Regions from separate parts of the Homo sapiens genome. Here region 1 is linked to region 2. The links are contacts of gene promoters, found by promoter capture Hi-C in blood cells and fetal thymus (Javierre and others, 2016). All regions are on one chromosome and are shown on one strand. Each heading gives the region's core, a stretch centred on a gene start or on the middle of the fragment in contact. The rest is flanking DNA. Distances are from core to core; before and after follow the strand shown.

Region 1 (3,495 bases), core at 516-3,015, 1.1 Mb before region 2:
CTAGATGTACTTTCCTAGCTAGATCTCCAAATTAAAAGCGAAATCAAATTGCATTAAAGCCATACAGTGTGATACCATTTGTTTTTTAAAAATTAAATATTTTCTGTGAATATATATGTATGTGTCTGTGTGTGTGTAAATATATAGGAAAAAGATCTGGAAGATATATATTCCAGACATATATGTGTGTGTGTGTGTATATATGTGTGTGTGTACATATGTATATAATGTGAATATGTAGAAAAAAAGGTCTGGAATTTTAAATACGAAACTGTTCCCTACGACCCCCTGTAGGGAGGAGTGCAGAACTGGGATAGCGATCAAAGGGGATGCTGGCATAATAAATTTTTTTGTCTGTAACTTTTAATATTTTTAAGGAAGATGCATTAATGTATTATTTGTGAAATTTAAATTTAATAATAAAAATGTACTACCACACATGTATCAGATTGTATTCTATGAAAAATAATTATCTCCTCTCTTTTAGAAATTGTTCAAAAATCTTCTGATTTTGCATACACCCAAGTTACTAGAAAGCCATTTGCATCTGTTTCATTTTTTTCATCCTTAGTACATTAGTCACAGTGTGCTTTAACATTGTCATTAATAATGAACAAAACAAAATAAAACAATGCCTGTGGGATACTTGCCACCTTCCTGTGAAGTTAATTATCAGACAATTTAGTAGGCTTTCTATGGGGCTGCAGGAAGGCCAGCAGTGCTGATGCACATCTGAGAATAAGAACCAGCCTGCCTACCTTTTATGTGAAGCCCGAGCCCTCAGTCTTTGTTAGCTAGGTTAACTCTGTGTCTGACATTCATGACATCGCTCCTTGAGTTGACTGATGAAGTCAGAGTGAAGAGGCTGATGAAGCTGAGAATTCTCATTAGATGATCTCATCTAAGTTGGGACCCCCTCTAAAGATAATCTGATCAGGACTCAGGAAAAGCCGAAGAGCCACAGCTCAAAGAGAACAGGAATGGGAGCAGAGCCAGGCCATATGTGAGCACAGGGATTGGCGATGTAAGAAAAACTTGAAAGCCTAGGCCATTTGTGTTTGTGGATCTCTGTTTTAAGGGCTGTACCACCAACCTCATTCAATCCCTTTCTGTTTGATCTACAGCTTTTAATATTCTTGTCAGTTTTAATTCCTACTGTACACTTCCTCATTCTGTGTATATTTCTCAGCTTAAATTCCTGGGAGGGACAATCTGATTAGTGTAACACCTTAGTTTTCATCCAGCCACAAGACAGATCCTTACCCAGCCTGTTGGTTAACTGTTCTGGATCAGATGCCCTGTCATTAAATAACAGAAAACCTAGCAAAAATGCTTCAATCAAAAAGGACATGTGTTATCATATAACAAGAACTCCAGAGGTAAGGCCATTCCAAGACTGGTTTATTCAGCAGCAGGAGTATAGCAGGACTCCAGGTCTCTGGTCCTTTTGTCTTTCCCCTCATGGAAAAAAGACAGTGGCAGCAAGGAAAATCTTTCCCAGAATTCTCCTATACCCAACAGACTTTCTAGCACCACTCATCTGATTGAATGTCATTGTATGCCCACGGAGAAGGAAATACAATTGCTATGATTGGCTTAGCAGATTAGACCAATCCAGCAAGATTCACTTCCTGGTTCAGCCTCCCTGAAGCATATGATCACCTAATATCTGAACAACAGTGGAATTCCATTAGCCAGGAAGAAACAGAGCTGGCCACAGAATATCTTGTCAGTCAGTTGCTGGAAGGGAATGGGACACATATAAGTTATACTCTCCTGGGACTGTCTTTTCCAGTGGGGTGAGTCTTAGGGGAGGATAGAGACAGCTTCCCTTAGAAAAGGCAGTGTGGGGACAATAATCGACATTATCTGGTGCAGGTTGGCTTCCTTATCTGTTCTCAAACAAAATGTACACAATAGTTATTTCTAGATGGTGAGGTCATAGATGAGATTTTCTTCTTTATACATTTTTGCATTTTCTAACTTTTCTATAGTATTAATTTTATAATTAGAAATGAGTTATTTTTAAAAATCAATACCCATTGTGCAGTAGTATCTGTGCTTTAGAATACAAATGTGGTTCTTCATATAACAATGTTTTGTGGCTGCCATGTGTTTTAGGGAAAGACTGGAAATTTTGGCTCAGCTTAATGACTCTATCTTTTGCCTGTGCTCTGTTGAATGTAGCCTGCTTCTTGGATTCCATGGCAACCCTGGGACTTGCAGCCTATGGATACGGCATTCGGTATGAATATGGGATTTTCAATCAGAAGATCCGAGATGGATGGCAGGTGTGTGAGCCATCTTTTTAAATTTTGTCATTAAGGTACTTCTCTTTCATGGTGCTCTGGATGATTTATAATATATGGACCTTTAACATAGAGCTGTACTAATTTCTCTGGCATTTGGTTGGTATCAGTGAGTTCTATCTATCCATCTTCCCACTTCAGAATGTATGTTCCCCAAGAACAGAGAGCCTTCCAGTATCACTCATCACCAGATCCATTGCACTGAGGGCAGTGGCTGACGCACAGGGTGCTCTGAAAATATATATCACTGACTGCCTGATTGTGGAGCACCTACAATGTGTGATGTTCCATTCTCTGCAGCAGTCATAATGGAGGAGCACATCTTTGACTCATGATCTCAGCCAAGAACCCTTGATGATAGGAAGCACATTGCCATTTTGTAGGTGAGAACACTGAGTCTCTGAGGAAGTAAAGTTACCTCAGATCACACTGCTGGCCAATACATGTCTGTATCCCCAGATTCCCAGGACCATATTCAGTATTCTATTCTACACTCAGAGTCTTGCCTTCTTTAATATGCTATGGTTACAAGACACAAACCAAGTGTCCTGATTTTTTTATAAGATGAAATCAGACAGTGTTGTTAACTGTTATAGCAAATAAATCTGGCACACATTTAATATGTATAATTACACTGCCCCATAGAAATTTGTACAAATCTATCCAAATGACACTACTTTTACTTTATATAATCAAACCAGATTGTTAGGTACTTATTTTTTTTTTATCTCTGGTAACTGTTTGAGTCTACAGTCGCCCTAGTGTGGACAGTTTTTGCTAATACTAAGTGTGATTTAGGCTTCCTCTCTCCCTATTTTTGTCTCATACATACACCATTGACAGAAATATATATCTTCAGTTTCCAAAAAACTTGAGCTCTCTGAGCCTTTCCCACACTTATGAGATGAGTCCAACAAGAGAACGCTCAGGGACTGGATGCAGAGACCTAGGCTGTGCCAGGATAAAGGAAGATAACCCTATGAGAATGAGTTTAGTGTCACCACTGCCCTCTTTCCCCTCCCTCAGTATTTGGATTCTTTGTGAACCAAAAAAGGGAGGAACTAAAAAATTTGGTTTGATGAGAGAATGTGCCAAGGAAAAAGACTCAGGAGAATATTAGGGATAGAGTGGAAGACAAACTTCCACATTTTGCTAAGGACCAGAGCTGTTTATCTTTAGCTACCCC
Region 2 (3,655 bases), core at 133-2,632:
AGCATACAAAAGTTCCCTGTTCTCCACCTTCTCCCCAATGCTTTCATATTTTGGGCCATTCTGTATGGTTTACTGTACCGTATGACAGTAATGCTGTGCAGTATGTGCTATAGCCATTTTTGCATCTACTGGTACCAGTTCTGAAATAGCAGCGGCGCCCTTTCTGTTTAGAGTCGCCTTCTGGTGGTAGGAATTCTGGTTGCTACCATGTGTAGCCTGCAAGCCTCTAGCAGCTCTTTTGCAGCGACGCCGAGCGCCGGGCGCGGTGGCGCGTGCCTGTAGTCCCAGCTACTCGGGAGGCTGAGGCTGGAGGATCCCTTGAGTTCAGGAGTTCTGGGCTGTAGTGCGCTATGCCGATCGGGTGTCCGCACTGAGTTCGGCATCAATATGGTGACCTCCCGGGAGCGGGGGACCACCAGGTTGCCTAAGGAGGGGTGAACCGGCCCAGGTCGGAAACGGAGCAGGTCAAAACTCCCGTGCTGATCAGTAGTGGGATTGCGCCTGTGAATAGCCACTGCACTCCAGCCTGGGCAACATAGTGAGACCCTGCCTCTTTTGAGTTCTCACCTTATAAAGTAGCCTTTCTTCCCATGCATCTATCCTAAGACAAAAGAAATGCAGAATTTACATTCTTACAGGACTATTTTCCTCACTACACTGTGAATCCCCCCTCCCACCCCACCCCCATTGGGAATCTTCTTGTTTTTATTTTTATCTTATTTCACCATTATCTAGCTAAACACTTGCACATTCATGCTGCCAAGTGTTTATGGAGCACCGATTGTACACCAGGTACTGCGGTGAGTCTCAGGGGTACCAAGACCGAGGTTCGATGAGAATCCTGTAATCAATTGCAGAATGCTCCTTCCGAGAGCAGGACCCATCAAAATAGGAACTCCGTTTTGAGAGTTCGCCTCGATCGTTGAGGATAATCTTAGAAGGACCGAAGCAGTTCCGTTTCGTTACATTTCAAAATCTTATGTCAAAGTAAGCGCGCAGAAAGGGGTCCTTGCTCTTCTACACTGAGCCCTACGGCCCCCCTGTGGGGAAATACTCCTGATAATCATCTCGAAAATTGTTTCGACCAGCAGGGGTCACTATGAAGGCTGACTTGAGCCCAAGACACAATGGGGCACGGTAACCAGACTGGTCCGTAAGGGTTCCAGGAAGGAATGCAGTTTCAAGAGAACAGTTTGAATCTTTATTCGAATTTGAATTTTGGTACAATGAAGAGAGTCAGCTGCAACTTGACAATCGAAATCTTCAGAAAAGCGACACAAATACGTTCGCCTCGAGGAATATTGGGTCTTCTGCGCGGCCGTAGAGCTCCGCCAAGTGCGCCTGCGCGGAGGAGAAGTGGCGTCGAGTCCGGCCGGGCAGTAGAGGAACTTGCGGTAGTGACCCTCGGGCCTCGCCATGAAGAGCCGCTTTAGCACCATTGACCTCCGCGCCGTACTCGCGGAGCTGAATGCTAGGTACAGTACCCTAAGTGACGAGGCTCGTGTGGGGAGTGCAGGAGGCAGAGGCCGGAGTCCCATGGCGCAAACAGACCAGCTTGATATGTTTCCTTATTTCCTAGTGCGTCTATGGACCTGCCTAGGCCTGAGTGGGCAGGCGTGTGGTGTCTTTCCCGTGACCCTTAGGATACCCCTGGGGGTCCCAGGCACCTCGTGCCCCATCCCCCGCGTCCTCCCAGCTCTCTGGCTTGCCCCGCTAGCGCGAAGCTCTTGCATTGTTGGCCTGGGTTGTCCGGGTTGGGCAGGAAACGTTTGTTAAAACACGAGACGCCAGAGTGGTCGTTTGCTTCAGAGGTTTCCAGACTGGGGGCTTGGTTTCTTGAACACCTCCCTCCCCTCACCCCAGAGAGAGAGAGAGCATCGCGGTTTTAGCTGGATTGAGCAGATTTGGACTGAGATCTGGATTCTAGTCTGGATTCTATTATTCAGCCCTGTGAGCTTTGTCATATTTTCGGGGCCCTCTTTTATCTTTTTTTTTTCTCCCTTGTAATAAATTAATTGGATTATATTTTACTGTATTTCTCCCCCAAAATTGGGTCATTTGGAAGACGCAAGCTATAGTGTGTTGTTCCTAGAGCTGATAGACCACTTCTGTTTTTAAATCGTTACTCTTAAGTTTTGAACTGAATCTCCAAATGGCTTTCAGACTCTGCTCCTCGGCTGACTCCATATCCTTAGAGACTGAGATCCGCTCTTTCGAAGCTTTTATTAAATTATGTGTAGTTTTATGTTTCAGACAATAGTGTAACATGTTACATGTTTCCTTTATCTTTGCAGCTTGCTAGGAATGAGAGTAAACAATGTTTATGATGTGGATAATAAGACATACCTTATTCGTCTTCAAAAGTAAGAACATTTTATAGGCTTATTTTCTCTTTGACAATTAAGTATGAGATTACTGATTTTTTTTAACCTACATTTTAAGCCTGTTTAGCAATTAGCTTTGGCATATACCCTAAAGAAAAATTCGACTTTTTTCTTCTACAGACCGGACTTTAAAGCTACACTTTTACTTGAATCTGGCATACGAATTCATACAACAGAATTTGAGTGGCCTAAGAATATGATGCCGTCTAGTTTTGCCATGAAGGTAAACTTGTTACGCTTGAAGCTAAATTTTAAGAGATTGCTCACTAACAATTAAGTTTTTAATTGGGGTTTCCTTCACTGTTACGAATAAAGTGCAGATAAAATGAAGGTAAAGGGAGTGGTTGACAGATAATGGGTTGAATAAAGTGAATATTTATTAATTGATTTCTCCCCATTACCTTTCACATCCTGTTCTGCTCCAGATCTTCTGTTTCCACAGTCACTATTAGAGTTCAAGCTTTTATCACATTCAGCCTTACAGTTCCTTAACTGTAATTCACTTCTCTGCATCAAAACAATTCTAAATTAGACCAACGTTAATTTTTTTGTTTTTGTTTGTTTGTTTTTTTGTTCGTTTTTGAGAAGGAGTCTCGCTCTGTCACCCAGGCTGGAGTGCAGTGGCACAGTCTTGGCTCACTGCAACCTCTGCCTCCCAGGTTCAAGTGATTCTCTTGCCTCAGCCTCCTCAGTAGCTGGGATTACAGGCGTGTGCCACCAGACCCGGCTAATTTCTCTATTTTTAGTAGAGATGGGGTTTCACCATGTTGGCCAGTCTGATCTCAAATGCGTGACCTCAGGTGATCCGCCAGCCTCAGCCTCCTGAAGTGCTGGGATTACAGGCATGAGCCACCGCGCCTGGCCCAACATTAATTTTTTTAAAGTATAATTTTCATTAGTTACCTCACCTTTTATGGTTTCCTGATTTCTAAATCCATATTCTATAGCCTAACATTCTTGGCTTTCTGTGTTCTTTCTCCTCCCTGCCCCACCTTTTTTTCCTAGTCTTATCTTCCAGAGCTCACTTTTGTGAGTCGTATTCCTCTGTACCCAGTCAGTATTTTTTTTTTTTTGGAATACTCACTGACATTAATATGTTACTAAGTCTTTTTATTTTTCTGTTTTGTTTTTACTATTAAAACAGATTTTTACATGGGTGGGCATGCTACCCATTCTTTTATTGATGTAACATATAGATTGAAAATTCATGTGGTACACGAGACTTTCGAGTCACATATACTTAACTTTGAATTAATAGCTTTGTCAGAAAG

The links. Contacts are between HindIII fragments. The CHiCAGO score rates a contact against its expected background, and 5 or more counts as called.
Region 1: a fragment that was not itself captured here is called in contact with the fragment with the promoter of NEMF in region 2 in 1 of 17 cell types (monocytes); the score reaches 5.1 in monocytes.

The regions. Positions count from the first base shown.
Region 1 is chr14:50,930,469-50,933,963 of GRCh38, reverse strand. It overlaps PYGL (glycogen phosphorylase L), which reads left to right. Exons shown (of 20, transcript NM_002863.5): 4 at 2,188-2,291. Among named protein-coding and RNA genes, the nearest start is that of PYGL, 12 kb to the left of the region's middle. The HindIII fragment of the contact is 4,432 bases long and covers 1-3,495 here.
Region 2 is chr14:49,850,515-49,854,169 of GRCh38, reverse strand. It overlaps NEMF (nuclear export mediator factor), which reads left to right and starts at 1,382. Exons shown (of 33, transcript NM_004713.6): 1 at 1,382-1,475; 2 at 2,295-2,363; 3 at 2,505-2,607. The coding sequence starts at 1,417. It also overlaps RN7SL3. RefSeq lists a silencer at 273-332 and an enhancer at 1,136-1,375. The HindIII fragment of the contact is 4,280 bases long and covers 1-2,221 here.